2 separate regions of the Homo sapiens genome follow, and region 1 is linked to region 2. The links are contacts of gene promoters, found by promoter capture Hi-C in blood cells and fetal thymus (Javierre and others, 2016). All regions are on one chromosome and are shown on one strand. Each heading gives the region's core, a stretch centred on a gene start or on the middle of the fragment in contact. The rest is flanking DNA. Distances are from core to core; before and after follow the strand shown. Region 1 holds the start of CNR2 (cannabinoid receptor 2). Region 2 holds the start of HNRNPR (heterogeneous nuclear ribonucleoprotein R).

Evidence for each region. Contacts are between HindIII fragments. The CHiCAGO score rates a contact against its expected background, and 5 or more counts as called.
Region 1: a fragment that was not itself captured here is called in contact with the fragment with the promoter of HNRNPR in region 2 in 1 of 17 cell types (neutrophils); the score reaches 6.2 in neutrophils.

The regions. Positions count from the first base shown.
Region 1 is chr1:23,908,149-23,914,779 of GRCh38, forward strand. CNR2 (cannabinoid receptor 2) reads right to left here and starts at 5,214. Exons shown (of 2, transcript NM_001841.3): 1 at 5,098-5,214. RefSeq lists a silencer at 2,063-2,112 and enhancers at 4,083-4,252, 5,026-5,540. The HindIII fragment of the contact is 3,555 bases long and covers 2,129-5,683 here.
Region 2 is chr1:23,338,399-23,345,693 of GRCh38, forward strand. It overlaps HNRNPR (heterogeneous nuclear ribonucleoprotein R), which reads right to left and starts at 5,886. Exons shown (of 11, transcript NM_005826.5): 1 at 5,813-5,886; 2 at 2,454-2,619; 3 at 92-210. The coding sequence starts at 2,610. RefSeq lists silencers at 5,359-5,428, 5,439-5,798, 6,309-6,428 and an enhancer at 5,819-6,403. The HindIII fragment of the contact is 3,804 bases long and covers 4,087-7,295 here.

The DNA.
Region 1 (6,631 bases), core at 2,656-5,155, 570 kb after region 2:
TTTTGTATTTTTAGTAGAGACGGGGTTTCACCATGTTGGCCAGCATGGTCTCGATATCCTGACCTCATGATCTGCCCACCTGGGCCTCCCAAAGTGCTGGGATTACAGGCATGAGCCACCGTGCCTGGCCAACTATCGCTTTTTAAATATTTATTTTATTTTTGAGATAGGGATCTTGCTCTGTCACCCAGGCTAGAGTGCAGTAGCACAATCTCGGCTCACTGCAGCCTTGAATTCCTGGGCTCAAGCGATGCCTGGCTATACCTGCCAGATTTGATTCTTCCACTTATCCTAGGAAGATCTCACATTGAGAAAAAATCTTTTAACTATTACAATAATTATTCACTAATTTTTAAAAAAATGGAAACAGGCATCAAGACCTTCTAATGATGTGAACCTTCTGGAACATCTCCCTCCCTAGTGGGAAAAGCTGGTAGAAAGTAGTGGGAAGACAGACTTGGGTTTGACTCCTGTCTCTGCCTGTTGTGTCTCAGCCTTAGTGGCTTCATCTGTCAAATGGGCCCATTGGAAGGGAGGGAGGGCTACAGAAGGTCAGTGAAGCACCCTCTGGCTCCTTCCTTGCTCTCAGTGGGCTCTATTCCCCAGCTTCCAGCTCCATCAGATTTTCCAGGACCCAAACAGACCCAGGGAGAGACACAGAGGACGAACTCAATGAATTTGGGCTGAGGCAACACTGTGAACGCAGCTGTGGCTCTCAAAGAGGAACTTAGGGGTTGCCTCAACCTCTAGGGAGGCAAGGGAGCCTCTGAGAGACAGGTGGGGTGGTGGGGGTGAGGGAGTGGGAAAAGCTGCCTTTGACTCACTGTATGAGCAGGAGATCAGAGACCTCCTCTCTGGGCAGTGGAAGCAGGTGGGGGAGGGGAGGAGAAGCCGTGAAGCTCACCGGACACCGAACCACGAAGTCCCCTCTGCTCATGGGCTCACCCACATCCTCCCCGACTGGATGGGGCCCCAGCAGCCTTCACTCCCTCGCCTGCTGGGGAATCCTTCCCTCCCTGCTTGGCCCTAACTCCACTATGCAGTTCCTCCCCCATTAATCTGGCCTTGTCTGTCATTTTCTCTCCTTGGCATTTGAGGTCTTTGCTGCATGGCGTGAGGACTGAGTACATCCTTTCTCTCCCCAGGAGATGGAGGGAAAAGAGAACAGTTTTACACTGTTCTGGGTTCTGCTGGAAGAAGGCTGAGACCTGATCTTACTCTTCTGGTGGTCCCTGCAGCATAGCTGGGGACCGAGAGCCTTGGCTGTGCGTGGGTTCCCACTCTGCCCTCTCCCGAGACTTCAGTGTCCTCATTTATAGCTTGGGGAGAGAAAGAGAATTGCCTTTACAGGACCGAGGTGAGGATTACATAAGATAATGCCTAAGCACAGTCAGGGAAGGTCTGTCAGAGATCATCATGGAAACAGGAAGTCACCTGGGCCAAGGGCTAGAGCCTCAGGGTCTTGGCACAGAGTAGACACCTCACAAGACTGGATTGGACTGCTCAGTTTGGGGTGGGAGGAGAGAAGCCGGCCATATTCATATGATATCCCTCCAATTTCCTCCCCAGCGCAGGTTCTCGGGTTGTCCATGTGATGGCATCTGAAACGCAGCCTGGCGAGCGACACAGTAAAGACAACCCTGATCATGAGTCCCCGAGCCTGCCCTGCATCTCCATACCTAGAGGCATTTCCACTCCCGTTCTCCTATTTTGATTCCCACCACAATATGGCTTGGTTCTGGATCCAGATTGACCTGGACTTGAGTCTCAGCTTTGCCATTACCACCAGTTATGGGACTGTGGACAAGTCTCTCTCCTTCTTTTTTTTTTTTTTGAAACAGTATCTTGCTCAGTTACCCAGGCAATAATAGCTCACTGCAGCCTCAATCTCCCAGGCTTAAACAATCCTTCCACCTCAGCCCCCTGAGTAGCTGGGACCACAGGCATGTGCCACCATGCCTGGCTAATTTTTAATTTTTTTTTTTTTTTTTTTGTAGAGATAGGGTCTCACTATGTTTCCTAGACTGGTCTTGAAGTGCTGAGCTCAAGCTATCCTCCTGCCTGGGCCTCCCAAAGTGCCAAGCTTACAGGTATGAGCCACCATGCCCGGCCCCTTGGATAAGTCTTAAGCTTGTGTGAGCTTCAGTTTCTCACCTTGCAAATGTGGTTAGTGATAGCAGCCCCCTCCTAGGCTGTGGTGAGGACTTAATGAGGAACGGTCACAGAGCTCAAATGTGTAGTAAATGCTTCATCAATCTTCGCTTAAGAAAAAAACAAGAGCGGATCACCTGAGATCGGGAGCTCGAGACCAGCCTGGCCAACATGCAGAAACCCCATCCCTACTAAAAATACAAAATTAGCCGGGCGTGGTGGTGCATGCCTGTCATCCCAGCTACTTGGGAGGCTGAGGCAGGAGAATCGCTTGAACCCAGGAGGCAGAGGTTGCAATGAGCTGAGATTACGCCATTATACTCCAGCCTGGGCAACAAGAGCAAAACGCTGTCTCAAAAAAAAAAAAAAAAAAAAAAAAAGAAAGAAAAGAAAAGAAAACAAAACAAAAAAACAAAAAACAAAAAACAAGAGCCCCTTTGAGGCAGGTTGGGAATGCTATGATAGCGTCATTTTTAGAGTTGAAGAAACTGAGGTTCAGAAAGGTGATGTAACTTGCCCCAGGTTGCCTGAGTAATTGATGAGGGAGACTTGGGTTTCCATGTGATTCCATGTGATTGATAGCACAAGCTCTGAACCCACAGCGCAGGACTCTCTGCTCACACTGGCTCCGCTATTCCTTGGCTGTGTGACACTGAGCAAGTCAACACTGCTGCTGAGTCTTGGTTTTTCTCATCTGTAAGATAGGGCTGCCTGTCTCTTTTCAGAGTGCCCTTTGTGTCTCGTGGCTCGGGGACTTTTTTCAGGGGTGAGAGTAGGAAGCAGAAGCTATTTGAAGACAACCCTTCTTCCTGTCCTTTCCTGAGAACCTGAGCGCAGTGAGAAGGTTAGGTCACGTGGGTGGGGGGTGGGGAGAGAAGAGTGTCCATCTGCCATCCACAGCCAAGGGGAGAGGAGAGATTGTCCTTGGCTGGGAGGGGACCGAGGTCTTGGGCACCTAGAATTTGCTTTCTGGGAAGATGGCAGGACCTCTGGGGGAAGTCACTGGGTGATATATCCTGGATGTCAAAATGAGACACAGTGGTTTCAGGTCTTACAAAGAATCTGGACTCCAGGCATGCCAGGGAAGTGGGCAAGGCTGGACTTCAGACAATCAAGTCCATTTGGGCAATGGGCATCCATCGTAGGAGGACCCAGGAGCCTCCCTCACGCTTATGTTCTGTGTGTCCTCTGGGTCAATGTGCATGGGTGGGGATGGGAGTGAGGGAAGCTCAGTGCACTTGGAGATTAAATTTCCTCCTAGCCCAGTAGGATGAGGCTCAGGGTCCTATTGAATGTGACTTCAACTGAATAAAGAAAAGATCAATTTATGCACACCCGAGGGTGTGCAGTAAGAGTGACTGGTACTGTAAAATGAGGTGGGAAGAGAGGGGGCTGGCGCTGGAGGGCTCTGCTTGGCTGAGCCAGGCTGCCATTTTCCCGTCTTCACTGCCTTATCCTGGCCTTAGCCGGCCAAAGGGTAAAGGATATGCTTCACCTGCCCAGCGCAGGTTAGGGGGTCACTCTGGTAAGCCACAAGGTGGTTACAGAGCTGGGGCCAGGATTATTGGGACTCCACCTCCTGAGCTCTCCCTGAACTTCTCCCCAGCCTCCATCCTGGTTTTCATGCTGCCAACGTGTCTACTTGCCACTCATTCCAGGGAAAAGCAGCCAGGCCTCATTTTATCCTCATCTCAGATCCACAGCAAGAGCAGATGGGGTGAAGATCAAACTCTCCACCACAGCCATTCCCGAGCCCTGTGCTGCTGCCCGCCCTGTGCCCGCATCAGACAGTTGACTCGCAACAAGCCTGTGAGTGACCTTCTCAGGCCCATGTTTCTCAGAAGAGGAAGCTGAGCAGGAAAGAAATGGAGTGATTTGCATTAGGCCATCGAGCTACCAGTGGCAGAGCTGGGATTCAGACCTGGACGCTGACCCCAGGGCACACTGGAAAATACTGCTCTTCCCTCCGCTGAGTGGAACTTACACCAAAGCAGACCCCTGGCCTCCTGAGTCCAGTGTGCCCCTAACACTACCTTGTGGTCTCCCCATCTATAAAATGAGAGCGCAGGACTCACCTGGTCATCTCAAAGGCCTCTGCCAGCCCCTGTCATTTCCTGGCCCCCATCTACTGTTGCAGTCCACACCTCGTAAGGCAGGATAGCCTGGTGGCTGAAGGGTGGGCCGCGAAGCCGGAGTGCCTAGGCTCAAGCCAATGCTCTCATTCAATGCCCGCATGATTTCAGGTGGGTCACCTAGCCCCCACCTATCAAGTGGACAACAGTGATAGCTCCTACTGCATACGGCTGTTGTGAGGATTAAATAAATCCAACCACTAAAGGCTCTTAGGGCAGCGCCTGGCACACAGTAAGGCCATCTCTGTGTGTGTGATTCTTGTCTCTGTAATGAAATGAAAGCCAAAGTCCTGATTCTTGGTCCTAGGAGGGGGATGCCAGCCCTGAACTTTCCTGCGACTGGTCCTCCACAACCCCAGGTGTCCTGAAATGACATCTATCCCCTGCCCCAGACAGGCCCACCTGGCTTCTTGTGTCCCTGGAGGGAAGGGATAAGGTAAGAATACAGGTTTTGGCCAGGTGCAGTGGCTCATGCCTGTAATCCCAGCACTTTGGGAGGCCAAGGTGGGCAGATCACCTGAAGTCGGGAGTTCGAGACCAGCCTGGCCAACATGGTGAAACCCTGTCTCTACTAAAAATACAAAAATTAGCCAGACGCAGTAGTGCACACCTGTAATCCCAACTACACGGGAGGCTGAGGCAGGAGAATCGCTTGAACCTGTGAGGCTGCACTGAGCCGAGATTGTGCCACTGTACTTTAGCCTGGTCAACAGAGCAAAACTCCGTCTCAAAAACAAACAAACAAACAAAAAAGAATACAGGTGTTGGGGAATGAGGAAGAAGCCTAAAATAAACAACAAAAAAAGCTACTCACGGTTGTGTTGTGGGTGGCTGGGCACTGGGAGCTGCCGGGGGCTGAGGAGTCCCAGTTGTTTTCTGTCCTCTCCCAGGACCTGGCCGTGGGTGCCACTCAGAGCACCTGTTGAGTGCCACCCCAAGCCAGCTTTCTCTTGCTTTTGTACTTTCTCACAGATGAGTGAGTGTGAGGAGGTCTGGCCTTCCGTGCCTGTTACCACTTCCCCTCCAGGTCCCTGGTGCCACAATGCTCTTGCCCCTGCGGTTGAGTTATCTCTTACAACGAACTCTGGCCAGGGTGGGGCATGGGCCTAGACCCTGGAGTCAAGGGACTTGGGTTCTAATACAGCCTCGTTAAAATGTTGATTCACTTAACTTCCCCAAAGGCAAGTTTCTTTATCTGTAAAATGGGGATAATGCACCAACATTACAGTAGATCACCTAAAAGGACATGCCATTCCAATGCCTCTTCACCACTAGGCCAGAGCTTTGAAATGCAAATGCCTACAGGCAGATTAACATAATGGGTGATGGATCCTGGTGTGGGGCAATAGGGAGTGGTAGGGACTGTGGGTAATAGGGGGAACACAGGACCCAAGTGGAAAAGCTTGGCTGGAGCTGAGAGGTACCTGACCCTCTCTACTGGCCCAGCTGAGAGGTATCTGCCCCACACCCCAGACCCTGATCTGGGCCAGTAGAGAGGGGCAGGTACCTCTTAGTTCCAGCCAAGCTTTTCTGCTTGGGAGTATAGGCAAATTGTCAGATATTCCAAGCATTTGGAAGTTGTGCTGTATTTTTCAAGAGATACCAGAAATCTTGACTTATGTGATAGCTTCCTGTGTGTGTGTGTGTGTGTGTGTTTTGTTTTTTGTTTGTTTGTTTTTGTTTTGAGACCAAGTCTCGCTCTATTGCCCAGGCTGGAGTGCAATGGCGCAATCTCGGTTCACTGCAACCTCTGCCTCCTGGGTTCAAGCAACTCTCCTGCCTCAGCCTCCTGAGTAGCTGGGACTACAGGTGCACACAACCACCTCCAGCTAATTTGTAGTTTTAGTAGAGACAGGGTTTTGCCATGTTGACCATGCTGGTCTTGAACTCCTGACCTCAAGTGATCCACCCACCTTGGCCTCCTAAAGTGCTAGGATTACAGGGTGAGTCACCACGCCCAGCCACTTCCTGTTTATTTTATTTTACTTTATTTTATTTTATTTTAATTTTTTGAGGCAGGGTCTCGCTCTGTTGCCCAGGCTGGAGTACAGCGGCACGATCATAGTTCACTGCAGCCTCAAATTCCTGGGTTCCAGTGATCCTCCCATCTCAGCCTTCCAGGTAGCCGGCAGAACAGGCATGTGCCACCACACCTGGCTATTTTTTTTTTTTAATTTTTTTGTATAGATGGGGGTCTCACTATGTTGCCTAGCTTGGTTTTGAACTCCTGGGCTCAAGCAAATCCTCCCGCCTCAGTCTCCAAAAGTGTTGGGATTACAGGCATGAGCCACCATGCTCAGCCAGTTGCCAATTTTAGAATGTAAAGCCCAAAGTCACACCTTTAAAAA
Region 2 (7,295 bases), core at 4,636-7,135:
AAAAATACCACTTCTCCATAGGAAAAAAAGTAATAGTAAAATAATTTCAGATTACTAATTGTTCAAAGACATTTCTGAGTAACGACCTTACCTGAACATGTGATAAGTCACTTTCCTTGAACTGCTGTAGTACAGACAGAGCTCCTTCTTCATTAAATTCCCTGAGAGCATCAATTGCTCTTTCATCAAGATCGACATAAGCTACCAATCCTAAAAATTAAATTGAAAGGGGTAACGTTATTGCAACAAAAGGGGTAATCTAAGCTCTACTGACGTTTAATCAAGAATTGTTACATTCAATATGATCACTAACAAACTGTATTTTCATTTAACTATATGCATATACGCAGCTATCCAAATACTACATAGAAAGGTCCAGGACAAATATGAAAATAAAGATAAAATGTCAACAACCAAAAACATGAATTTCAATCTCCATATCCACAAACCTCCCCCGCCAAATCCTAACATCCATTTCCCACTCCCCCAAAGGTATAAGTCTTGAAAGTTAAATCTGATGTACATACTGTATTACAGATTATGCATTAATACAACAAATTTTGGTTTATATTAGAGTGATAAGAATACATTGCGTTTTCCAAGGATAAACCTTCAAATTACAGACGGTTACAGTTGATGCTAACCACCTAAGAGGTGGAGGAAAATCTGAAAACAAATTTTACTAAGTAATTCTTTCCACTCTCCAAAAAGTGTCAAAAGGCTTTCCCTCCTGAACACCAAAGATAAACTGAAATGCATTTGTTTATCTGAGCATCCACTTTGCTGCAGTCAGAATGTGGAAAGGCATAATTTTAAACTTCTACAAATGCAAGTGCAGCTTGATTAATCAATTCTGAAAGTCATACTTTAAGGCATTCTTTGTTCTTCTGAAGTGACAAGCTGAGATTTAAAAGATGCTGTGGCATTCACATTGACTGTCAAGAACGACAATCATTTTCAAATGGCAATAAAGACTTTATGGTCTTACAAGTAAACTTGACAGAAAATATATACACTGCATTTCATATATGTAAGTATATTCAACTGCACACAGAACATCTACTAAGTTTAAAATATAATTTCTTAAGTCTGTTAAGTTTGTGTCATATTTACATATGGAATATATTTCAGAATTGATCCAACGTAAAATGCAAGTATTTCGTAGATTAAAACCCCCAAGTTCATATGAACATGAAAAGTGACTCCATTTTGATAAAGCTAAAAAGAACTTTATTCCATATAGTAAATTTTAAATAAATGTAATGCCACTTCCAAAGTTACTTTTTAAAAAAGTTGCCATGATTTGTTTCAAAAGCTCGAAATGAGCATGTGTAAATAACTGGAGCTGCCTCACTTGAATATTCCATACCACCACCCGAAGCCACAACTCAGGACACCCATCAATCCATTTTGTCAAACCAAGTCTACGCCCAAACCATCAGCCTCTTATCAATAACAAAACACTCTACAAGAGAGCATCTCTAAGCAGATCACTGCCAATTCTCTATGGCAGAATGTCACAGAAAGTTCCTGAGGACTGATTTTCAAATGCGACCATGACCCAGGAGTCATTTTTATAAGTCATTTTAATGTCTAAAATTATGCTAAGCTTCCCAGATTTAAAAATTTTTTAAGGACAAAAAAAAAAAAACAGCTATTTGCTACTACTGTACTTAAGACACATTTGTGAGTGAGACAATTCAATTCTCTCTCAGAATCTGAATAGGCACACACAACACAGAGGAAGAAAGTTTCCATCTATGTCCCCAAAGGAGGAGGACACATTCATTTATGAACAACGCTCCCTAAGGGTAAATATTTCTCTCCCTCTTTAAAACTTCAAACCACTTACAACCAACTATATTAAGATGTTCAAATTTGCTTAAGCACTTAACCATGGCACTTCTGGATTAAAAAAAAAAAAAAGAAGCAGCTGTTACAACCAAACACTTCCAAATTACGGAGAGATGTGGATTTCTATTAGAAACTAGACAAGCCACAAACTCTCAAGGAGTCTGACATTTATTATGGTTTCAGACGATACAGCTATCCTCTTGTTATGCCACCTAATCAGACCTAAGCTGATTTAACAATCACTTTAAGAAGGTAAAAGTAGAAAAGCAAAAGCAAAATGATGACTGATTTTGATTAAGAAAAAAATGTAAAATTTGGTATGCAGAAACATACATTTTTATGGGTGGTAAATCTAAGACAAATCGATGTGCTGTTCTGAAACAACTAAGACTGCATATTCAACACTAAGAAGGCTTCAAAATAATGAAATAAGAGTATCAAAGTCAAACCCAATATGCCTTCAATGAAGGGAAAGTAACAAACATTCAGCTCTACAGATCAGAAACAATAAGTATTATTTAACCTTAAAAAACTATAAAATTCAAAGTGGTTTGCCCTCACTTTCATAACCAGTCAGAAACAAGAAATGCATATTATACCTGTCTGAAATATTTCATCAAGTCTTTCTGCCACCTTCTGTGGGAGGCCTGCCTCTATCAGTGTCTTGTAGTGTTCTGTGTGAGTTACACTGGAAGTATCCATTGGTTCTTCCTCTTCTTTTAACTGTACCGCATTACCATTCACCTGATTAGCCATTTTATTATGCTGCTGGAAAAAATTCAGGAGCTATATTACATTAAGCCAGAAATAACTAGTTTGTAGGACAATGCATGATTTATCTAAACTAATTTGTATACATGCTGCTAATAACCTCTATCAAAATAATAATTTATTCCTCCTGTGATGTATCTGACCTAAATTGGCAATAATAATCCTGTAAAACCATAGAAAATGTACATGGAAGCATTAGATCTTTAAGGAACTTCATGTACACCGGGTAAGATAAAGGCTTTAATTTACTGAAGGTAGAATTGCTGATTAACAAAAGCAGCTGTTCTGTCCTGGTGAAAAGATCAAAATCACTACAAAATCCTTTACTAAAAAGCCCCTCAGCTCTCGGGTCTTACACAGTTTTAAAAAGTTTTGTTTTAAAAACAGAATGAACACCCACAGACCACTTAATCAAGATTTAAGGACTTTCAAATTTTCCTGGCTCTGCTTCAAATACAGTATCGGTGTGAAATAAGTGCCCTGTTTTCTCTAGTTCAACATGCTGGTGGTTTGGGTTTTCTCCACCTAACAATACAAAACGAAAACAAAAAAAAACCAACTTGACATTAATTTTTGTTCTAAGATTAATTCGCTATTCCCACAGATTTAAAAGAAAAAATGACCAAGTTTAAAAGCGAAACAATTGTTTTCAGTCCAAATAAAATACTAAGTGAGCTATAGTTTAGGTTGCTTCTTAAAAAAAAAGAGTACATGTTGAAATTTTCATATCAGTAAAATAAAGATGTAAAAACATACTGAAGAATGGACAACTTCTTCCAAATATTTCAAAAACCGTTACCTAATTAGGCTAAACTTCAGCCAGATTTCTCAGATTAACCTATCAAAAATAATTTTGTACATTCAGCCTGTAGGTAATGCTGAAATGGACTGACTCCCTGAAGAGAGAGAGTAAACAATAAACCATACAAGGCCAGTCTGTGTACTGCCTCAAAAGACAGGGAATTAAAGTGCATTTGTCTGTGGTGAAATTACAATGTGATGAAGATAATAGGCAGCAGAACAAGACATTGCAACACATACTAAATAAAAGACATAAAGGTGGATCTCAAGAAAAAGCCTACTTTTCTTGATGAAACTCAAGATACCTAGTCATCTATAAAGAAAATACAAGTCTCCTACAAAGTACTAAGACACATAAGATAACCACACTTCCCGACAGCTTATCGAACATTGTGCAAATGCACCAGGTGCAGTTTTCTGGCTTAAAACAACTTCTTTTCATTTCAAAGTCCACTGATACTTAGTTGAAGTTAACGAAAGAGGGAGGAAGACCAAGAGGGGAAGGAGGTAATAGAGAGTAGGAAGAAGAAGAAAATGCAAAGGATTACTCTGAAAATGAGATAAACATGACTCCTCACAATTACAAAACACTATTAAGACTCGATAGCCCTTAATAGACGCAGACTGTGGTTAAATTCTGGGTGGATGTTTCTCAAGACAAGCTTCAAATTCTGATGAACTAGCAAAAACGGAAACATTCGAAATGTCACACTTTTGATCAAGAAACTGTATTGTGTGAGATGAATACGTTTACTGATTAACACGACCTATTTCTATAAAGATGCATCCTAAAACACAAAATCTCCTTGCGAACATAAGGTTCTGTTTTCCCATGCTCCCCCATCCCCACATACTACCTTAAGATCATCAGAACTCAAAAGTTCTCAGTATCACAAGACCCTTACAGCATTGTACCTAGGAATACTATCAGTCACAGAAAAGAGGCAAATTTTTAACAGAAAAGTTCAATGAACATCTGTTAAGGTGGGGTTTTTAAGTATGTGTAAAGCAAAAAGACAAGTTGTGTATTAAGTACAAGACAGAAATATTTATGCCTACCATTTCATTGCAAAGGCTCTACAAGTTGATACTGAAATTGGTTAAAATTTTCAAAAAAAGTTTGTAAATTTTAACAAAAAAACCGTAAAATAATTAGATTCCAGAAAATAAAACCTTCGGATCAAGGAAAGCCCTCTCTCTTCAAGCCAAATACAAAATGCTCATTTTGAAAAGACTTTTTATGTCATATGAGACCATTTGAAACTCATTCAAATGTGGCATTCAACACAATGCCACACAGCCAAACCATATTTCTGGATGCAGCAAATATACTAACGTGACTGGAGTCATTTGATCTAAACATTTTTGCAAAAAAAAAGGAGACATTTAAAGATTTAAAAGGGCTGCTGGGAGATTCGGGATGTCAGCACTAACTCCTCCCTGACTTTTTCTGAACCTCTCTGTGCAAATTCTTCATATTAAGAGACGGGCTTTAAAAGAACCAACGAAATGAGACTAACGGTTATCTCATGGCTTAGGAGTGTCGAGCTCTCATCCTACGACTGACTCATGAGACATCAATTCAGCCACTTGAGGACTGCAAAAATCTCAAACAGGTAGTGTGAAAGGACTGAACCTTCCAAGAAGCCCTGGGCTTTTTTAAAAATTTGGCAATACGGCCACTACCGTGTAAGAAAAAGGATCGCCTTTCCAATTTGGTGCGCCTCTGACAGTCTCAGAATTATCCATTTCAGGCGCCGCTTGGAGCCTAAGTTCTACGGCCTCTAGTAGTCATTTTTTCCTTCAAATCTCAGCCCGCGGCATGCAGAATGTGGGAGGGGAGGGAGGCTTCCCACACAAATCGGCCTTTCGGTTTCTGCTCACACAAAACTTTTCTCCCGGCTCAGATAACCCTGGGATCTGCACCCCGCCTTCCGCCCCCCACCCCCATCCCCTCAGGCCCGTCCGGATCATCAGCACATCCCTCTCGGGCTAGGCCGGCCGCGGCGGGAGCGAAGCGGCTCCGGCGGGGAGAAGCGGCAGGGCCGCGGGCGCCTCAGGCCCTTCGCGGGATCCGGCCGCATGGAGCAGCGAGCGGAGGCGGGAAAAGCACGGCCGGCCCCAGCAGGCCGCGCGGAGAGCGCCCAGCGGGCCGGACCGCGGGCTAAAGGGGCGGGGGGAGGAAGAGCGAGGGCGAGAAGCGTTTCGGCCGGGCTAGGCCCACAGCCGCGCGGGCGGACTAGACCGAAGCCGCCCCCAGCCCGTCCCCACCCCCACCCCGGGGCCTCGGAGCGCAAACGAAACGGGACCAGGCACGGAGCCCGGGCTGAGTCGGGTCGCATCGGGGCTCCCGGCCCCTCCCCCCACGGGCCGGCGCGAGACTCACCAGGGCAGAGCGGGGGCCGGCAGCCGGGCCCGTGAGAATCAGCGCGAGGCGCTTTGAAAACGACTAGAAATGGCGCGCGCGCCACCCCCTCCCCCCCCTGATGGACTGAGACGCGATCCCGGCAGCACGCGGGGTTTCCCGGAACTGCTTCCAGGGACTCCGAGCTACGGGGCAATCGCTTGGCGAGGCGGCCTGACAGGCAGCTCAGACGACCAGTAGTATCCAGGCAAAACGGACCACGCCGGACGACTCGAGAGCCAATCGATGAAGCTGCCGGCTGAACCAATGAGGGTGCTCAGCGCCCCTGGCTGGGGCGCCTCCGGGGCGGGGGCAGGCACACAAAGGGGTCTGTGGTGGAAGCCCTTGGTGGCTGCAAGGCTTGGGGGCGCTGGGTCCTGGGTGGACGAAGCTCCTCCCTCTTCGTCTGCCGCCGATGCGAGGCCGAAAATCTAGGCCTCGCGCCGCGTGGCCGCCTCCGGAGCCCCGCCCCCTATGGTCAGCACTGGCCCAGCTCCGCCATGGCGCTTGCGTCCCGCCACCGGCCGCCCTTAGCCCCCGAGTCCTCCCTCGCACCCCCGCGGCCGGCGTTCCCCCCAGACACGCCCATAGCCACGCGTTCGGGCCTCTTTCGGTCATCTTTTCGCCTCTAGTGAGCACACGATTTAAGGATGATTTGGCTCGTCATTTTGCTGAGGATTTTGTCTAGATAATCATTCCTTGGAACGATCGGAGAAATGCCTCTTTCCCTCCCTGGCTGCCGTCCACACATCGTTGGTGGCAGACTGTGAGGGAAATCGTTAAAATGACTCAAAAGCAATGTGTAACACAAGTGATAGAGCAGGGAGCTTTTCCCCACAGGGTTTGGAGCTACTTGATATTCATAAAATAAAGCAGCTATATACATCTCTGAAGCCAAAAGAGCCATGCAGGGGAAAGGGGTAATTCCCAAAGGACACTATAATTCGTGTTAGTCCTAAACCTATTTCTCACCTGCCATTCCTACTGATTTGTTCCCTGTCCTTAGTCCAAACCTGTCTCGTCTCATAGAAACCTTCCGAACTCACTTCTGTGGTGCAAGCGCTTTTTTCCCAACCCCAAACTCCAATGCCCCACCCTTAGGAAGTGGAGGAAGTCAAGCAGTGGTCTGCAGATTTCCAGATGCACTCAAGGATGATTAAATTTCTCAGAACCTACAAACCTATATTTAATTATTGAAAACGGGCGGGGCGTGGTAGCTCATGCCTGTAATCCCAGCACTTTGGGAGGCCGAGGCGGGTGTATCGGTCAGAAGTTCGAGACCAGCCTGATCAACATGGTGAAACCCTGCCTCTACTAAAAATACAAAAATTAGCCCGGTGTGGTGGCACGTGCCTGTAAACCCACCTACTCCGGAGGCTGAGGCAGAAAAATCGCTTGAACCCGGGAGGCGGAGGTTGCAGTGAGCCAATATCGCACCACTGCACTCCACCCTAGGGAACAACAG